Linked DNA regions of Homo sapiens: region 2 is linked to region 1. The links are contacts of gene promoters, found by promoter capture Hi-C in human tissues and cell types (Jung and others, 2019). All regions are on one chromosome and are shown on one strand. The core of a region is centred on a gene start or on the middle of the fragment in contact, and the rest is flanking DNA. Distances in the headings are between cores, read along the strand shown.

Region 1 (3,450 bases), core at 855-3,354:
TTATACCTCTGTGCTGATCGGTCATTGGATATAGAATGCCCAAGAAAGGGAGCATAACCTTGGATGAGCTGGCTTTCTTCTGCTTAGGCAACTCCTGAAGGGTTATGACAGCTGAGGGCCATCTTTTAGGAGCACTCTCCACAGCTGGAAAATAAATCCTCCATTTTTGAAGAGGGTTCTGGGCTTTGCATCACAGCATCCAGCGCAGGGGTGAAGGAGCATAGGGGAGTAAGGCATCAATAATAATTCCTAAATTTCTGATTTGTACATCCTGGTGGGTGCACTTAACGACCATATATTACAATCATTGGCTTGCTTGGGAAAATCCCACTAGAGTAGGTGCTACTGAGGGGCAAACTATATTGGACAACTAGTGCATACCCCTAGAACTGGCATAGTTTGCTAAATAAGTGAATGTCCATCTATTTCTATTTTCACTCCCCTCTCCCTTACATCCTTTGCTCCCTTCCCTCCTCATCGTACTGTCATCCAATGTGGGAAAACTTGAGCAGGTTATCTGAGGCCCCACCTGTGCTGGAGCGGAACAAATAGCAAATCAAGCTCCTCTGGTCCAGGCTCTCTGATGGGCAAGACAGGCAGTACCAGGAGGAAGGAAAGGGGGAGCAGTTGATGACATCTCAGGCATAAACTGTCTTTCAACTCTCTTTCAATGCTTCAGCCCCTATAAACTCAGGGCTGGCTGAACCAGGTCCTCTCCAAAAGATTAATTGGATAAGGGCCTGCTGAATCCCCCATAAAGCCAGACTCCATTCTCTAATTTGCTCTTCCACTGATGCCCGCCCCCAACCTCTTACAGCTACTGCTGGGGGTCAGAAGAATTTCACATCGTATTGGAGTTCATCCGGAATCTGAAGAATGGATAGGAATCTGGAGATAGGAATCTGGAGATAGGAATCTGGGGAAGAAAAGGAATGGATAGGAGAATGCATAGGGAGCAGGGCTGAAATAGTAGAAGAGGCAAATCCTGCCCCGAGAAGCTGAACCCAGTTCAGTCCTGCACCCTTCAGCCCTGTTCCCGCTGCACCGCAGTGACCCAGTCCCCTTCTAGCCCCCTCTCGTGGGAACCTGACACCCTACACAGGCAGCTCTGCCTGCACTGAGAGCAAACAGGGAGCGTTAGCGTGTCGGGTGGGCGTGGGCGCTGCCTGGAGACGGTGGAGAAAGCCAACCTTCTCCTTCTCTTTTGCCTGCGCTGGGCCGGCGTTAGAATTATATCCCATCCTCACCTTACTCTGGTTTATCCTTGTCAGTGCTTGCCACCACCCCCAACTGCCCTCAACACTCAAGTCAGAAGCTTCCTCCCGGGAGCCCTTTTCCCTGGCAAGGCTTCCCTGGAGCCAAATCTCGGCCCCGGCCCCACCCCCACTCCCGCCCAGCTGTGGAGGGCTCCTTGGGACCCTTAAGTGCAAGCCTGAGTGTTAAGCCTCAGACAGGAGATGGAGGGTGCGGAGACAGATGCAGGAGCTACCCCAGGCCCGCAGCGAGGAGCTGCAGGGAACTACGGTAGCAATAGTGTCACGGTCACTGCGGCCACTGCAACACAGTACGGTAAATGCGGCTCTAGGCTCAGACTAAAGCATCCGCGCCTCAGCAGGTGACGCACGCAGACCTGGTCTCCAACGCCACCTCCACGTTCCCTGATACACCAGAGAAAGATGCTGGATCCGTGGCAGCCGTCTCTACCCAACCCCTCCTACCCTCCCTTCCCCGAAACCTCCCCCTACGCTGCCAATACTCTTGTCTTCAATCTCTCTCTCTCTCTCTCTCTCTCTCTCTCTCTCTCTCTCTCTCTCTCATTCCTGGGAATCGGGGGTGGGGGCGGGTGATAAAGAGAGGTGGGCAGGAGAGAAATCTCTAAGAGGAGACGGGACACATCTAGGGAGGGGGCGAGCCTGGAGGACAGTCGCACAGGGAGGGGCAGAACTCCCGAGCCAGGGAGGGGGTGCACAGTCACCTGGCGGGACAGAGGCTGGCGGAGGGACGGGAACCCAGGCGGGGCGAGCCGCGGGAGAGTGGAGGGCAGGCGCCTGGGCTGGGGGCGGGGACCAGGCGGGGCAGGGGGCAGGGAGAGGAGGGCGGCGGGAGCCTGAGCCGGAATCGCAGCGTGAGCAGGTGGAGCCGCGTTGGGAGCCCGCCGGGTCGAGCTGAGTAAGGCGGCGGGCTCGGCGGGGGCCATGGAGCTGCTAAAGCTGAACCGGAGCGTGCAGGGAACCGGACCCGGGCCGGGGGCTTCCCTGTGCCGCCCGGGGGCGCCTCTCCTCAACAGCAGCAGTGTGGGCAACCTCAGCTGCGAGCCCCCTCGCATTCGCGGAGCCGGGACACGAGGTGGGTGCCTCCCTCAGCCCCCCCCACAAGCTATTTCTCACTGTACCCCAGAACACTAATAGAGTCCCCCCAACGAGCTCCACACTACCTTCTCAAACGTCCACACCGTGCCTCTCATAGTACTCCCTCAGCCCCCAAACAGCTCCCCTCACACCTTCACCCCCACAGCCTACAACTTCATCACAGCTTCACACCACCTGGTCGGAACTCCTTCACATCCTGGTCCCCTGAATACACCTAGAGCCCCTGCTCACCCCAAAGCACAGCCCCTTCCCCAACACGCAGCCCCTCCTAGACACCAGTCAGAAGGCGAGGACCTCCTCTTGCCAACCCTGCAGATCTCCTTTTCCCTCTTACATCCAGTTCACAGAGCCACAACAGAGAAGGGAAGGAAGAAAGGAAGGCAGGACTGGGAAAAGAAGGGGGCTGGTTGAGGGAGGGAGCACTCTGGAAAGCTTGAATGCGAAGCTGAAGTTGTGATCACATCTGACACCCCAGCCCCCAGCCATCCCAAAAAAGATCCTCAAATCTGAATTAGGCTGGACACTAGGGGATGCTCCTTAGAGCTGCCTGCCTCCATTTCACTCCTTCTCAAACCCCTCTGCCTCCCTAGTTGGAGCTTTCGAGGCTCTGTGCCCTCTCTCTTTGTCTGCAAGTAATGTCTCCAGCTATCTTCCAAGCTCTCTCTCCAGCCCTAGGCTAGGTGCTGGGGGCACAGGGCAAACTAGACCCAGTCTGGACCCTCATGGCCCATAGCCAAGTGCAGAGAGAAACCAAGCAAATGGAAAAATCACAGACACAATGGAAGTCCCATGAAAGGGTCTAAACTGTGGGCACCAAAAGAACTTCACAGAGGCTAGAACCTTAGAGCTGGGTCTTGAAGTTGAGTAGGCAGAAAAGGAAGGAGTGGGATTCTAGGTGAAGGAGCAATGTTAAGCAGAAGGAAATTTTTCTAAACTCAAAAAGGGAAAGTTGGAATAAATTGTAATCCAAGTATTTATTTACCCCACGAAATAATCTATGCTTTCTCAGCCGAGTTGTTACACACTCACACTTGGATTCTGTCATTCAGCCAATATTTATTGAACCAGAGATTGTGCTAGG
Region 2 (3,428 bases), core at 273-2,772, 38 kb before region 1:
CCAGGAACCAAGAAGAAACATCCCAAGAACATGTAAGGCTCCTAAGACCAGGGGACCAAATGGGAGACTAATAGAAACAACTACTAAAAAAATGAAAGATAGTGAGTAAGAATCAAAGTTAGGATAAGACAAAAGGAAGAAACAACAGATAAAACCTCAAAAAGAAAATCAACTGTCTCTAAACATGAACAGGACAATATGAGGCCAATCATGGCCTAATTTCAGCATAATGAGGGAAAAAAAATACTTTTGGTATCTTTGTAAAATTAAAGCTTTAATACCTATTCCCTATTGGTTCCAATAAATCTTAACCCAAGGCATCTATCATGATTACTTTTTGGAAAATTTTAAAAATACACATGTCCTGAGCCTACTCCCAAAGATTCACGAAATCTGAGGTAGAGCTCAGAATCTGTTGTAGTTGTTAGTTGTCATCTTCAAAGATTCACAGACGTTTCTAAAGTATACACTTGGTTTAGAAACACTGGTTTAATCAGTCAGTCTGGAATATTTCTTATACACCCTAACTTAGCTTCAGAAACTGCACCTATACAAAACACAGCTATCCAGGAAACTGACCTGGAACTCTACTATCTAGTATCTCATTATCTAGAAGTTTTCCAGAGCTCTTAGTGATGAAAGAACTTCTATTTTAAACACATGGATCCAGGAAACTTTAACTTATAATAAAAAAAGGAAGCAAAAATGGTCCCAGAGGCAAAATAAATGCCATGAAGTCCATGGCAAAATTAATGCTTTATTCTCCTAGAGGGGCTTAAGTCTTTATAACTTGGAAACCACCCACTCCCATGTTATATATATTTCTATTTGTTAATATCCAAACTTCTTGCCATGGTCTTCCAGGTCATGCATGATCTGAATTTTACCCCTCTATTTTTATCTCATTCCCTTCTTCCCCTTGCTCACTACACCTCTAGTCTTTCATTTCCTCAAACATGTTAAGCTCTTCCCCCATTTGATGTCCTTTGCATGCTGTTCCCCTTGCTTTCCTGTTCTTCTACTTGATCAATAAGTTAACTCCTTTATAATCTCTATGTCTCAGTTCAATGTCATCTCTTCAGAGAGGTCTTCCTTGGCCACCCTATTATTTCTAAGCACTCTAGTTTTTTCATAACCCTGACCACAACTTATTAATGTGTTTGCTTGTCTGTCTTCTCTACAAAGTAAGCTCCATGAAGTCAGCAACAATGTCTACCTTATTTATCACTGTATCCCCAGCACCAGCAAACAGTATGGCACACAGTGAACATTCAGTAAAAATGTTTAGGAGGAAGGACCGAAAGTAGATAGGTGGGTGGATGAGTGCTCCAAGCTATAGTTCAAAAGCAGCAAATCCAAAGGAGAAAGAAGGCAAGCATATCAGTAGCACCTGGATCACCTACCAAAGCAGACACACAACCTAAAGTGCTCTCAAGTCACCCAAAGCAGGCCACAGAGTGATAAACAGTTTAAGAGAACTCAGGCCAATACTACATTACGAACACTGCACAGTAGCAAAACCTATAGTCATGATGAACAGCCAAAGTCATCCAGAAAAGGTGACTGTGTTCTAGATTCATCTATCATAAAAGCAGGGGAGTAGATTAAAATCTGTACCCAAAATGGTTAAAAGTTTAATGCTGGAAAGTTAATGCCACTTAATTTTGAGGTGACTGCTGGAGATACAGGCAAAAGAAGGGCAGGAATACCCTCCCAGAACAAAGGTCAGAGAAAGAAGATGGGTCATCCAGGTAAGCTAGGACAGGGGTAAGGGCCATACCCGGGAGTTACTGCCAATACGAGCAACGAGGGTGTCGAGGATGGTGTGGGTGTCATGCCGGTGCAACAACAGGAATCGCAGGAAGGTACGGAGCAAAGCAGGCTCTGAGATACTCCGTAGGAAAAGTTCCAGATAGGCGGTACTGGCGATCATCTCCTCCACAGAGGTCTGCACAAAAAGAAGGGAAAGTCTGGAAATGCACAGCTTCCCTGCACATACAGGGCCATTTTCCCTGGATTCTAAGAGAAATCAGGAGCAGACAGGGCAAAAGGGAGGAGTACTCTACCCACCGCCTCCTACGTTAGTCCTGTCACTGAGGTTACCACTGCAGCTTAGCCCCTTATATGCCTTGCCACCCATGACTCTCACCTTGTGCAAGGCAGGACCCATGACAGGCACCAGGAACCCATTATGGATATAATCAACCAACTGCTTCTGCACCAGGGGGTGAGCCACCTGTAGGAGTGCCAGAGAGAAGGGGGAGGGTTATGAGGAGACCACTGCCTGGAAGGGAGTAGAATAGTACACTACAGAGAGGCATCCTACTTCCAAGATGGAAAAATGACAGAACTCCAGGGAATATACCCCCTCCTACCTAATCTCCCAAAAATGACCAAGGGCCAGACTTTCAGTCCTACCTGAATTACTGCATTGCAGAACTCCAGGGAACTCATGAAGAGTGCAAGGGCTGGCACTCCCAGCCAGTCTTCCCGTCGCAGACAGTGCCAATCATCCCCTGGAACCTCAATCTTTCGAGGCAGTGATGAGTACAGGGCACTGAGCCCTGTGGCCAGCACCTATGAGAAGTTACCAAAAGCTCATATATAAAATACATTTATAAAATATAAAAACTGGAACAGGGGAGCTAGTAATCCAGAGTTTTGATGGGAATAGGGGTATAAGCTATTACCAAAGCAAGCATTTGCCTACCCAATGTGCCTGAAACTCACCTAGAATTCACAGGCCTACAAAGAGACTTAGTATCTGCCCTATCCATCTAAGCCCATGATTCATCCCCACTACAACTCCAGGGGGCTGCTTTCAAATCCAGGAACTGTTTCCTAGGGGAACGGGCCCTGGAACATAGCCTCTCCCCATCTCCTGGATAGGAAGGTGCTGTTCAGTATCTACACACCACACCCTACCCTCCAAGCCAGGGGGTGCTAACCGGGCAGAAGTAAGAGTGATCCGCGATGTAGCGGCCCACAGTGGGGCTCCCAGCTGACAAAGCCATGAGAAGAAGTAGGGCATCACGGGCCTGCTGGCCCAGGGTGCCCTCTCGATGCACAAAAGGGACAAGGCGAGAAAAGAGAAGAAGACGGGGAGCGGCTCCAGGCTCAGGAGGTGGCTGCAGGAAGAACTCGAGCAATGAAGGCTCCTGGGCCACACAAACACACAGCTGGCTGAGAAGTAGCACCAAGCCTTCATCCAGTGCTGGGCTACTGGGCACAGGGCGGCCACAGGCATCCAGCAGGGTGAGCAGAGCCTCACGAACTGGACCATGCCGCAACAGTGGCTGGCGAGCTTCGCTCACTAGCATTTCAAATAGTTTCAGTTGCTCAGCCCGCCGTTCCTCGACCCCATCCCCAAGCTCATCCCATTGCAGCTGCCATGTCAACACACGGGTCAGCAGATCCTCGTGCAGAGC

Evidence for each region. The method cuts DNA at HindIII sites, captures the fragments that hold promoters and counts their contacts. A contact is called where the count stands out against the background at its distance.
Region 2: a fragment that was not itself captured here is called in contact with the fragment with the promoter of CCKBR in region 1 in 1 of the 25 tissues and cell types used here (liver).

The regions. Positions count from the first base shown.
Region 1 is chr11:6,257,734-6,261,183 of GRCh38, forward strand. It overlaps CCKBR (cholecystokinin B receptor), which reads left to right and starts at 2,105. Exons shown (of 5, transcript NM_176875.4): 1 at 2,105-2,346. The coding sequence starts at 2,196. The HindIII fragment of the contact is 2,957 bases long and covers 289-3,245 here.
Region 2 is chr11:6,220,662-6,224,089 of GRCh38, forward strand. It overlaps FHIP1B (FHF complex subunit HOOK interacting protein 1B), which reads right to left. Exons shown (of 12, transcript NM_001098794.2): 3 at 2,949-3,428; 4 at 2,419-2,577; 5 at 2,150-2,236; 6 at 1,781-1,948. Among named protein-coding and RNA genes, the nearest start is that of FHIP1B, 12 kb to the right of the region's middle. The HindIII fragment of the contact is 7,709 bases long and covers 1-3,428 here.